Linked DNA regions of Homo sapiens: region 1 is linked to region 2. The links are contacts of gene promoters, found by promoter capture Hi-C in blood cells and fetal thymus (Javierre and others, 2016). All regions are on one chromosome and are shown on one strand. The core of a region is centred on a gene start or on the middle of the fragment in contact, and the rest is flanking DNA. Distances in the headings are between cores, read along the strand shown.

The links. Contacts are between HindIII fragments. The CHiCAGO score rates a contact against its expected background, and 5 or more counts as called.
Region 1: a contact is called between a fragment that was not itself captured here and the fragment with the promoter of OR10T2 in region 2, in 1 of 17 cell types (fetal thymus). The highest score is 8.0, in fetal thymus.

What each region holds. Positions count from the first base shown.
Region 1 is chr1:158,291,924-158,297,794 of GRCh38, forward strand. CD1C (CD1c molecule) reads left to right here. Exons shown (of 6, transcript NM_001765.3): 3 at 161-442; 4 at 673-951; 5 at 1,289-1,379; 6 at 1,532-2,851. The coding sequence ends at 1,553. It also overlaps a transcript of CD1B not described here. Among named protein-coding and RNA genes, the nearest start is that of CD1C, 4.9 kb to the left of the region's middle. The HindIII fragment of the contact is 3,555 bases long and covers 2,792-5,871 here.
Region 2 is chr1:158,394,515-158,400,992 of GRCh38, forward strand. It overlaps OR10T2 (olfactory receptor family 10 subfamily T member 2), which reads right to left and starts at 4,952. Exons shown (of 1, transcript NM_001004475.1): 1 at 4,008-4,952. The coding sequence starts at 4,952. The coding sequence ends at 4,008. The HindIII fragment of the contact is 4,820 bases long and covers 1,910-6,478 here.

The sequences.
Region 1 (5,871 bases), core at 3,319-5,818, 100 kb before region 2:
AGCAATTTTTCTCTCTTGTTTCTGATCAAATATGTCTTTGGCTCACTCTCACATCCATGTAAAACTTTCTTGCTTCACTTCCTGATACAGCCCTAGGTTTTTATACTGTTGTTTTCACTTTTTTGTTTGAACTCTTTTTCTCATTCCTCCCTTCCTCCAGATCCCTTTGAAGTACAGGTGAAAGCGGGCTGTGAGCTGCATTCTGGAAAGAGCCCAGAAGGCTTCTTTCAGGTAGCTTTCAACGGATTAGATTTACTGAGTTTCCAGAATACAACATGGGTGCCATCTCCAGGCTGTGGAAGTTTGGCCCAAAGTGTCTGTCATCTACTCAATCATCAGTATGAAGGCGTCACAGAAACAGTGTATAATCTCATAAGAAGCACTTGCCCCCGATTTCTCTTGGGTCTCCTGGATGCAGGGAAGATGTATGTACACAGGCAAGGTCAGTAGTTTCAGCCCCTTCCTCTAAGATTTTTCTATTCAAGTACTGCCCCTTCTGTTCCCACCCTTCAAACTCAGGACAAGAAAGAGGACAAGAAGCAGGGGGGTTGCTGGGTAATAGTTTCTTAGAGGCAGGAAAAAGATAACTGTGCATATTCATGTGGATGTGTGTATGTGGATGTAAGTTGTGTGTAAGTTTCTTCATCAGAACACTTTTTCTGCTCTCTGCAGTGAGGCCAGAAGCCTGGCTGTCCAGTCGCCCCAGCCTTGGGTCTGGCCAGCTGTTGCTGGTTTGTCATGCCTCCGGCTTCTACCCAAAGCCTGTTTGGGTGACATGGATGCGGAATGAACAGGAGCAACTGGGCACTAAACATGGTGATATTCTTCCTAATGCTGATGGGACATGGTATCTTCAGGTGATCCTGGAGGTGGCATCTGAGGAGCCTGCTGGCCTGTCTTGTCGAGTGAGACACAGCAGTCTAGGAGGCCAGGACATCATCCTCTACTGGGGTAAGACTGGAGGTTGGAAGTGTAGGTAGGTGGTTCTTGAGCCTAGAGGTTAGGGGAGAGGAAATTTTGAGGATAGCAGACCTAGGTGAGGGATTGTAGGAAGAAATGTATAGGGTAATTTAAAGAATAGTGGAGTAAGACCTAAGGGATACATGGATACTAGAGATTTAAGGGGAAATGAGGAATCCTTCCTTGAGTAAGTTTTGGAATAGAGTGACTGAAATAGGATAACTGATGCAACTCATCCAATGCATATGTTAAGTAAGGAAATCAATAGATGGAATAGAATCAGCAGTGAGTTTAAAATGGCATCCATGTATCTTTCCAATATGTGCAGGACACCACTTTTCCATGAATTGGATTGCCTTGGTAGTGATAGTGCCCTTGGTGATTCTAATAGTCCTTGTGTTATGGTTTAAGAAGCACTGGTGAGTTTTTTGTATTTCCTCCTCTCCTCCCAGTTTCTTATTTCACATTCCATTTTTCACTCTCTTAGCTTTTCTCTATTGACTACTCCACCTTATCCTCAGTTACCACCTCCAACTTATTCAGGGTTTCTCCCATTCCTGTTCCTTCACAGCTCATATCAGGACATCCTGTGAGACTCTTCCCCCTGACTCCCCCATTGTGTTAAGAACCCAGCAACCCAGGAGCCTAGTACAATATAGTGATGCCATCCCGTCGACTCTCCATTTAAATTGTTTCTCTTTCTGCATAATAAACATTTGTTAATAAAAACCAAATTCTAATTTGGAATGTTTTTCTTGGAATCTCCACTTTTTATATAGCACTCAACCTTCAAAGCCCATTTCTGATGTCATTTCCTCCAACGATCTTCCTTGACCCATACTGAACCCAGAGAGCCCCTCAACTGTTATGTGCATGCAACACTTCCTACCCTGTGTTGCAGCTACTTGAGTCTTTCATTTCACATTTTTAAGCTTTTAGGAGGCAAGGATCATGATAAATGTGCCTTTCCTGCATATGATAGGCTCAGTGAAACACAAAACAAAACATCATATCTAAGTTGGATTAACTGTCATGTTGACAATTTTTCTCATTATATTCCTTCCCAATGTTGTTGTAGCATTGGAAATATTCATGCTTCTCTTTTTGTTTAAATGCTTCATACCTAGCAGATAAATTCCACTCTCCTTTAGCTCCCTCATTTTCTCCTTAAACATTTAAGGAAAAGTGCAGCCTTGTGCCTTGATACACTTATTTTCTAAACACAGAGAATTACAAATGCAAATAGACAGAGAGTGTGCAAGTTACATGTGATGATCAGTGGTGCAGATATGTCACAGAATACTTAAGAAAAGGAACAAGAGATTTGGTCCTCAGGGTTGGAGTGGGATCAAGGCAACCGTTGTGCTGTATATGGAAGACAAATTTCCTAAAGGACTGTGTTATCTGAGATAGCCTTGGCTAAACTTTAGTCCCTTTAGGTTTCATTCACTAATTCAACTAATATTTTTTGGGTACTGAGTTGAGACAGGCACATACAGCTTCTAAACTGGTGGTGGATAAAACAAATGAGATTGTGTCCACTCTCCTGAAGTTGCAATGTTTGCTTCCTCAATCTGTCCATGTTTCTTTTCTATTGTTTTCATGTTTTTATTTATTTCAAAAAATTTTAAATAGATTTTATTGATGTATAATTTATAGTAAAATTTGAATCTTTAAGTGTACAGTTCTATTTATTTTGATAATTATATAAGCCCATGTAAACAAAATCACAATCAAGATATTAAATGTCATAACCCCTCATACCTGTTTGTAGTCAAGCACACCAACAACCTGGCATTCTTGCAACTACTGATATACTTTATGTCACTTAAGCTTAAACTTGTATTTTCTATGATTTTATTAAGATGGAAATAAACATATCTACTTGGTATTGCCTTTTATTTTTCTTCAGTTTAGCATATGGTTGTAAGTAATCCATGCTGCTCAGTGTATTAGTAACCATTCCTTTTCATTGCTGAATAGAATTCCATGTATGAATATAACTTTTTTTGGAGGAGGAGGTGGCTTCCCAGATCTGGCAGGGCCTTTGTCTCCTTGTGCCCACTCACCCAGCTTGGGTCCTGCTTCCATTGCTCATTTCCTTGGCACCAGGAGGCCCTAGGTGACTCTCCTGCACCCTTAGTCACCCTGTGACCTGCAGATACAGAGAGATCAATAGAGAGGATTCTAGGACACCCAGGAAACTGGGAAATAAAGCCAAAAATATATAAAATTAAACTTATTTTTGGGAGAAGAGACAAGATGGCTGACTAGATGCAGCCAGGAAGAGCTTCTCCCACCAAGAGACAAGACCATCAAGAAGAGCAGTATACTCTGAGAAGATCATTGGAAAGAAGGCATTGAGAGTGGATGGAGGGAGAATGCAGACCCTGGGCTGAAGGGGGGAAGAAGCTGCGAACCCTACACAGGGTTGCCAAACACTAGGACTTATTCTTGGTCCTCAGTGGCTTCTAGGGAAGGGGTTGGTTAAATAGGCATGAAGTGGCCCACTCTATCCATGAACCTCTGGAATCCTAGCTGCAGGAGACCCCCACGACCCACACAGACATTTGAGTTGGCAGGGAAAGCTACTTGCAGAGTTGGCAGGGACAGGACTCCAGCTTCTATGGAACCCAGAGGGTTTGGTGTGAGAACAGCTACAGTGGAGCATGGTTAGGGATGTCCATTACCCGAGGATTGGCATGCTCCTCTAGGTGGCTTTGACCCCTTTGTTGACTATCAGACCTGGACAGAATAGGGCTACCATGATATTTGGATGGGGCTAGACTGATCTGAGCCCCCCACCCCATGTCTGCTGGCCTCTCCCAGGATCCCTGCCTGTCTGTACCTGCTTGCAGCACAGCCTCAGATGTTCAACTGAGGCAGTTCTCAGAGACCACTGCCATAGGTCTTTCACTGGCTGACCCCACCAAACCACCAAATAGCTTCTGTCACTGGCCTCACATCAGCATGCACCTGCCTTCAGCACCCACAACTGCTTTGCTGGCATACATACACAGACATCACTGCCTTGCTACCACTTCTGTGCACATATGCATGGAGACCTCACCACTGCTGCACTGTCCCCACTAGCCTACATGCGTGCATGTACCCTGCCACACTACCATCCCTGGTGTACATGTGCATGGACCTTCTACCCTGCTGCCCCACCACCACCAGCATGTGAGTGAGTGTGGACCCCACCATGCCACTGCCCCACTGCTGCCAGTACATGCATGTGAGAGCAGACCCCCACCGCCACTGCCCTTATGAAATGCTTTTCTGGGACCCCCCCACCCTGCCCACCATAGGAGTGTTGTTGCTAGTGGACTGGGAGCACCTTGGCCCCCTCCAGTGAAGCAGGTGCTCAGTCTCAAGGGGCCAAAGAACAAGGTTCTGGGCCTGGTCCCAGGCCCTCAGTCTTAGAGCATATAGCCCAGGAGTGCTGAGCTGAGCCATGGCCCCCTGAAATCATCAAGAAATAAAGCTAGCTCACTGACCCAAACCTATACCATAGTCAAAGCCTCAAGGGCATCAAAGAATATAAAAGCAAAAGGCCCCATCAAAAGGACAGCAACTTTAAACGTTTAAGGAACATCAGCCCACATAGATGAGAAAGAACCCGTGGAAGAACTCAGGCAGCTCTAAAAGTCAGAGTGTCTTCTTACTTCCAAATGAACACACTAGCTCCCCAACAATCTTTCCTAACCAGACTAAAATGGCTGAGATAATAGACATAGATTTTAGAATCTGGATGGCAATGAAAATCATGAGATTCAGGAGAAAGTTGAAATGGAATCCAAAGAATTTAAGGAATCCAGTAAAATAATACAATAACTGAAAGACAAAATAGCCATTTTAAGAAAGAACTAAGCTGATTTGACAGAGCTAAAAAATTCACTAAAGAATTTTATAATACAATTGGAAGTATTAAAGGCAGAATAGACCACACTGAGGGAAGAATCTCAGAGCTCAAAGACCAGTTCTTCTAATTAACTCAGTCACACAAAATAAAGAAAAAATAATACAGAAGGATGAACAAAATCTCTGAGAAATATGAGGTTATGTAAAGAGACCAAACCTGTACTCACTGATGTCCCTGAAAGAGAGAGAGAGAGAGTGTGCAAACAATTGAAAACATATATGAGGATATTGTCCATGACAATTTTCTCAACTTCACTATAGAGGTCAACATTCAAATTCAAGAAATTCAGAGAACTCCTGAGAGATACTACACTAGAAAACCATCCTCAAGATACACAATAATAAGATTATCCAAGGTCAATGTGAAAGAAAAAAATACTAAAGGCAACCAGAGAGGAGGAGCAGGTCACCTACAAAGGGACCCCAATCAAGCTAACAGCATACCTTTCAGCAGAAACCTTAGAAGCCAGAAGACATTGAGGGCCTATATTCAGCATTGTTAAAGAAAAGAAATTCTGACCCAAAATTTCATATCCAGCCCAAGTAAGATTTATATGTTAAAGAGAAATTCAGCAAAGCAAATGCTAAGGAAATTTATTACCACCAGACCTGCCTTATAAGAAGTCATTAAGGGAGTGCTAAACATGGAAATAAAAGACTCTTACCAGCCACCACATAAATGCACTTAAGTAAACAGACCAGTGACACTATAAAGGAACTACACAATTAAGTCTACATAACAACCAGCTAACAATAATGACAAAATCAACTTCTCACTTATCAATATTTACCTTGAAGGTAAATGAGCTAAACACCCCAAGACACAGAGTGGCAAGTTGAATAAAGAAACAAGACCCTGGCTCATGCCTGTAATCCTAACACTTTGAGGCTAAGGCAGGCCGATTGCTTGATCCTATGAGTTTGAGACCAACCTAGGCAACATGGAAAAACCCCATTTCTACAAAAAAACCAAGAAAATTAGCTAAG
Region 2 (6,478 bases), core at 3,702-6,201:
AGGGAATAATTTTAAAAAAATAAGCAAATTTAGTTTTTAAATAATAAAAAACTCAAAAGAACCATTTACATTTTGAACTTTTTGTTAAAACACCTATATTTATAATAAAATATTAATTATTTAACATTTATATTAATGTATGATTTTAGAAAAACAATGGGCAAAAAAATAAAAAATCTTACAATCTCTTCTTTCAAGAGAGCTTTTCTTTCTCCACGATAAAAATGTGATATTCACATCATTAAAAGTGAAAGAAAACTATGACTTCCTCTTTTGAGACATGAAATAGGTACTTTCCTAGGTTACTTAATGGAGACAGCAAACATAAATTGTTTTCCTTAAAATTAACACTCTATTGAGACCATCCTGGCTCACACAGTGAAACCCCGTCTCTACTAAAAATACAAAAAATTAGCCAGGTGTGGTGGTGGGCACCTGTAGTCCCAGCTACTCGGGAGGCTGAGGCAGGAGAATGGAGTGAACCCGGGAGGCGGAGCTTGCAGTGAGCGGAGATCGTGCCACTGCACTCCAGCCTGGGTGACAGAGAGAGACTCCGTCAAAAAAAAAAAAAAAAAAATATATATATATATATATATATATACACACACACATATATAAACGCTCTAGTTAAATGTAACATTTTATGGAACACTTCAAGTAATCTTCCTTTTCAAGCTTACATTTTCATTGTTTATTACTGAAAAGATAACAGCTGCTATGGAATACCCTGCTAGAGGAAGTATACTGTCAGTCCTAATTTCAAATTTTTTTTCTTTAATTTTTCCATTTTTCTAGTGAGAAAACCACCTTCAAATCACCAGAAGCAATTTTCACAGGTAGGTAGACACACTTGAAAAGGTATATAGGGGAGACCCTAAAGTTGCAAGTGTATATTTGCCTTACAAGTGATTTGTCCCATTGTTTTGGGGAAGAAAAAGGGTAATTAGATCTTTCAACTTTTTTCTTGTACATATTTAGTGGATACAGTGTAATGTTTTGATACATGTACACATAATGTTATGATCAGATTGTCTTCTGAGTGTTTGAAAGGAGCAGCTCTTGTGTAGTAGACACTTATCCCCATGGAGAAAAGAGTGATGGAAACTTGGGGTCTGAAGTGCTTACACAACAGAACAAATTCTGACTCAGTGTTCCTGAGGAAAGCTGGTGGTTCATACAGAATTGTGAATGGGAATTAAAGGGGGGCATAGTTGAAACCTGGAGAGAACAAGTGTGAGAGAGTCTTAATTTACCTGGGAGAAATTAATATCCCTCAAAGAACCATGCCTGTTGGGAAGCCCATTGTGATGAGTGAGAAAACCAGCACTGCCTGTCAGCCATGTAGGAACAATCCTACTGATGATACTGTGGATGGCAGGGGGGACAGCAGCACATAGTGAACCAGCTGTCTCTTGTCTTTGGTATGGAAACCACTCTGATTCCCCTTTTAAATGTGTAAATCCACAGGGTTTCCAAAAAATTCAGGATAGAACGCCTCGAGAAGGAAATAGTGAATTTCTTGCTAACAAGGCATCTGGGGGGTTGAGGAATAACTTGGACAAACAAGAGTTGTAACTGCATACACATCTTTCTTAAATTGTAGAACAGTTTATAAAATCATATGGACTTAGTTTTAAATGAAAACTAATAAACCATACACCCACAATATCAGCACACTTCCTTTTGCATGTTACATTTCTATTCTCATCTATAGAAAGATACTTTTTTACATAGTTAAAAATAAACAATAGAATCCTCACATCTGCCCAACAGGACCAGGTAATTGGTTGATTAATCCAAAGTCCGACAGAGTTGAAAATAAAAAAGATGACTCATATACTAAAATGTTTTATTTTAACTCGAACCACTTAAAATGCATATATTTGTGAGTATATTCATGTAAGGATAAAGCTTTTACTTTGAGTGTTAGACTACTTGATCAGAGTTCTTCAGAGTACCTCTAGCATAAGCCCACTCATAATGCATTACATTCATTTTGGTGAATTTAAATATAAGCAGCAACTTAGAGACACTTGCAAATCCAAATGAATAAGACTTCTAGAATTTTTGATTTTATTTTCTTCCTCATATTTAGTCTTTCCAAAATACTCACCTGGCTGTATTAAAAACAGATGATTTTTTTGCAATCATACTTTATTAGTTTACATAGTACAAAATTACATTTTCCAAGTAGAATAAATAGAATAATAAATACAACTGTTAGAAGTGGTTTTGAGCACAACCCCCAACCCCCACCCCAACTTGTAGGGGCAGAAATATGCAGGCACAATGGAAAGTAATCTGTTAAACATTAAGTGTTCATTGTGCCATGAAAATCAGTCAGGGTGCTTTACAGAGGGAAGAGAGCATGCTGTTTAGTTTGTTATATAAAAATATTTTGGCCAGGGGCGGTGGCTCACTCCTGTAATTCCAGCGCTTGGAGAGGGTGAGGCAGGCAGATCTCTTGAGGACAGGAGTTTGAAACCAGCCTAGCCAACATGGTGAAACCCCGTCTCTACAAAAAATACAAAAATTAGCCGGGCATGGTGGTGGGCGCCTGTGGTCCCAGCTACTCGGGAGGCTGAAGCTCGAGAATAGCTTGAATCCGGGAGGTGGAGGCTGCAGTGAGCCAAGATGGAGCCACTGCACTCCAGCCTGGGTGACGGGAGTGAAACCCTGTCTCAAAAGAAATTTACATGTAATTTTTACAGTCATACAAATAATGATATTTCAGCTTTTCATTTGTGAGATGTAACATAATTTTAACAAATCAGCACATTTTAATTCTAGTATGGATTAGTCTCTGGGCAGAACAAGGATCTCATTAACAGTAATTGACTTCCTCAACTAGAATCCAAGCACTGTGAGAATGAGATAGTTCACATATTTACTCAAAAAGAAATCTTAGTTGTCCAGATGAAAAAATTCAAGGCTTATCGGTTTTAATATTTTAAATAACATTTCTTAAACTATGTAGCTTGAAAATGATAGTTTAGATTTAAAATCAATCCTGATCAGTGTTTATAATTCAAATTATATTATTGTAATCAATAAAATGTTAGGTTCTTATAAATATTACACTATGATCATCATAGAGATTATGGCCATTTTTGCCTCTTCAGAGCACTGTGTTCTATTTGATCATCAAGCATGAGGATGTCATTATTGTTTATTTTTAGTCTATTATTAAATAAAATTACATGATCTGAAAGACTTAAACATATAGCTAAGTGAAAACAAAACAAGAACTATAAATAAAAATAATGTTTAACTTATGATTAACATAATAAAAATCTAGAATTATCAACAATTCTGATAATATCGACTAACATTTTTGTCACTGTAAAACCCAGTTTCTTAGTATTAATATCTTGTTCTCCATTTAAGGCCCAGTTTAAATTTTCTCTCCCTTCTTTTCATCCCACTTATTCTAAATCTTTTTCTCTTTCAGATGGAATAAATACTCATTCCTTTGATTCTCATAACTTTTATTTATATTCTTTTAACTGATCTGATTATCTTGCATTATCATATTTTTTTCAGTGTTCATCTTTTCACCTAACCAGTCCCAACCACCATAAACTATACATTTGTTCATTTTAATTTTTCCTCTTTGAATGGGACTTGGTACACAGATGAATGTATTACTAGATGAATGCCTGTGTCCCGGATAAAAATGCTTCCAGCCACTTCAGACTCTGTTCTGTCTCTCCAACTGGAAAAGCAATTCTTGTCCTTATATTTGTTTTGGTTGTGTCTTTCCTTGAAAAACTCTCATGCTTTTCTCTTTTTGCCAAGTGTGAATTCTTTTTTTTTAACTAGACATCGGACAATATAGAGTGTAGATTGACTTGCATTTTTTTTCTTTTTGGAATAGGAGAAAATAAAAAGGCAAGAGTAGTCTTAATCCTTGGAAACACTGTCTGAGACATGCATTAAAGGTCAGAAAATTTTATGCCTTTGATTTCTTCTGTGACTATCCTAGTTAATTTTATTATTATTTTTTGTTAGCTCATCTTGGTTGCCACAGGCATTCCAAGAACTCTTTTCAATGCAGTTTTTACCTCTTTGTTCCTCAGACTGTAGACAAGAGGATTAAGTAAGGGAGTAACCACTGTGTAGGTCACTGCCACCAACTGATCCTTGTCTGAGGCAGACTTGGACTTGGGCCGCAGATAGATGATAGAGGCACAGCCATAGTGGACAAAGACCACAGTGAGATGTGAGGCACAGGTGACAAAGGCCTTCTTGCCCTCAGCTGAGGGGATCTTCAGGATGGTGTTAACTATGAAGCCATAGGATATGAGAATTAACAGAAAAGGCACCATAATTACCAGGATGCTGAGGCTAAATAAAGCCAGCTCTTTCACATGGGTGTCAGTGCAGGCTAACTTGATAACAGGTGCCATGTCACAGAAATAGTGGTTAACCCTGTTGGGGCCACAAAAACGCATGTCACAAATGAGGTTGGTGGCCACCAAAGCAATAAAGAAACCTGTGGCTCCTGAGAGAGAAATCAACTCCAACCCCAGCCTTTTGTTTATGATGAGTGTGTACCTCAGAGGGTGACAAATTGCTACATAGCGATCATATCCCATCACAGCAATGAGGAGGCAGTTGGTGCAAGCAAAGCCAAGGAAAAAGAACAGCTGGGTGGCACAGGCCATGAAGGAGATGGTCTTGGTGTCTGAGAGCAGGTGGACCAGCAGCTGAGGGATGATGACAAAAGTGTAGCAGGACTCAGAAAATGAAAGGATGAATAGAAAGCCATACATGGGAGTGTGGAGAGTCCAGCTGAAGCGAATAACGGCCATGATGGTCACATTGGCCACCAGGATTGTCAAGTATAGGAGAAGAAAGATGACAAAAAGCAGCAGCTGGAGCTCCCCCAGGCTGGAGAAACCCACCAGGATGAACTGTGTAACCACAGTGGTTTTGTTGAAACCTCGCATCTGAAGAACTTCTTTCTGTGAATGTGTTTGAAAGAGACAAAATGATAACTATCTTTGTAATACGAACATTTTCCCAACGCCTTCACTTTAAGTATATTGTCAGATTCATAATGTTAACATCTCTTTCTCTTAGTCTATCTAGATATAGATGCCTCTTTAATGATTTTTCCAAAAAATTATTAATCTGAAGTAACAGAGAAATGATTATCTACAGTATATAAATACCCCAAAGTTAAAAGGATCCAACTATTTGACAAAGTGAAAAAATTCTCTCAGTTTAAGAAGAACATTACCTTTAATATGGAATAGAAAATTTAAATTATTTTTCTTGTACTGTATGTATTTGGTCCTTGGATGTATATTCTATCCTAGTAATTTGGTTTCTTTTCCTAATATCACAATCCATTTAATTAGCATTATTGTAAAGGCATTAAAACACTGTGCCTCAGAGCATGAACTCAGGAACAAGAATGCTAGAGTTTGAAACTTGCCTTTGCCACTTAGAGCTATGAACTTCAGTGTGACAATTTTTGTCATTTGTAAGACATAAATAATAATAGAACATATTATATAGGATTGTTGTAAGAACTTAGATGGTATCAGTAAAGTACTTGAAACAGCACTTAACACATAGTAACTCCAATCTATGTGTCAGCTGCTTATGCAGTTAAGGAGTTGAGAGGCAAATATCCTGGTTTGATATTTGAACACTAGAAGAGCCTGGATCCTTAAATCAGGACAGAGTTTCCCTGCATTTGACTCAAGTGTTCTTATCCTTGAGATTCTTTTTTTAAAATTGAGCAAAAATTTAAATATGCACAGTTAAAGAAAGAACTGTTACTTTTACATTAAAAATTATTTTCTTTTTAATTTATTTTTTATTAGCAACTAATAATTATACCTATTTATGGGGTATTATGTGATGTTTGGATACATGTATACATTGTGGGATGATTAAATCAGGGTTCTTTAATAAATCTGCCCTTTTTTATCTAAGGAGTCTATAGCCTTTGAATTCTCTTTCATGATTCTATGACATTTGTTCTGTATGTTTCTGGAACTGTGAAGGGACCCAAGTGTAAAACCTGGGTCACAAGGTTATGATGTATCTGTCTATGAAACAAAATAGATTGATGATCACTAGGGATAGGGGTGGAGCAGGAAGACTTAGGTTAAGTCTTCTCTCTATTGAAGAAAGGAGAGGAAATAACGTGAACACACCTTGAATCTCTTGCAAATAAAATAGCCAGAAAGTGCTAAATGGAAAGAGAAGAGCCTATCTCAGGAACTTCCCATTATTTTATAGTCTAGGTTATTCCTCCTCCCAGAGCCCTAATCATTTTTACTTTCAGAATCAGCTTCAGAGATTCAGGAGAAACCAGATGTAATATTTGCACAACTCAACATCTCCCAACTTGTTGGCTACTTTAATGGCTATAAGATGTTAGGAGTTGTTTGACATGACACACTTGAGTTTGTTCATTGTTCATCATCTCTGTTGTGGTTTATTTGCTTAGGTAGTTCCA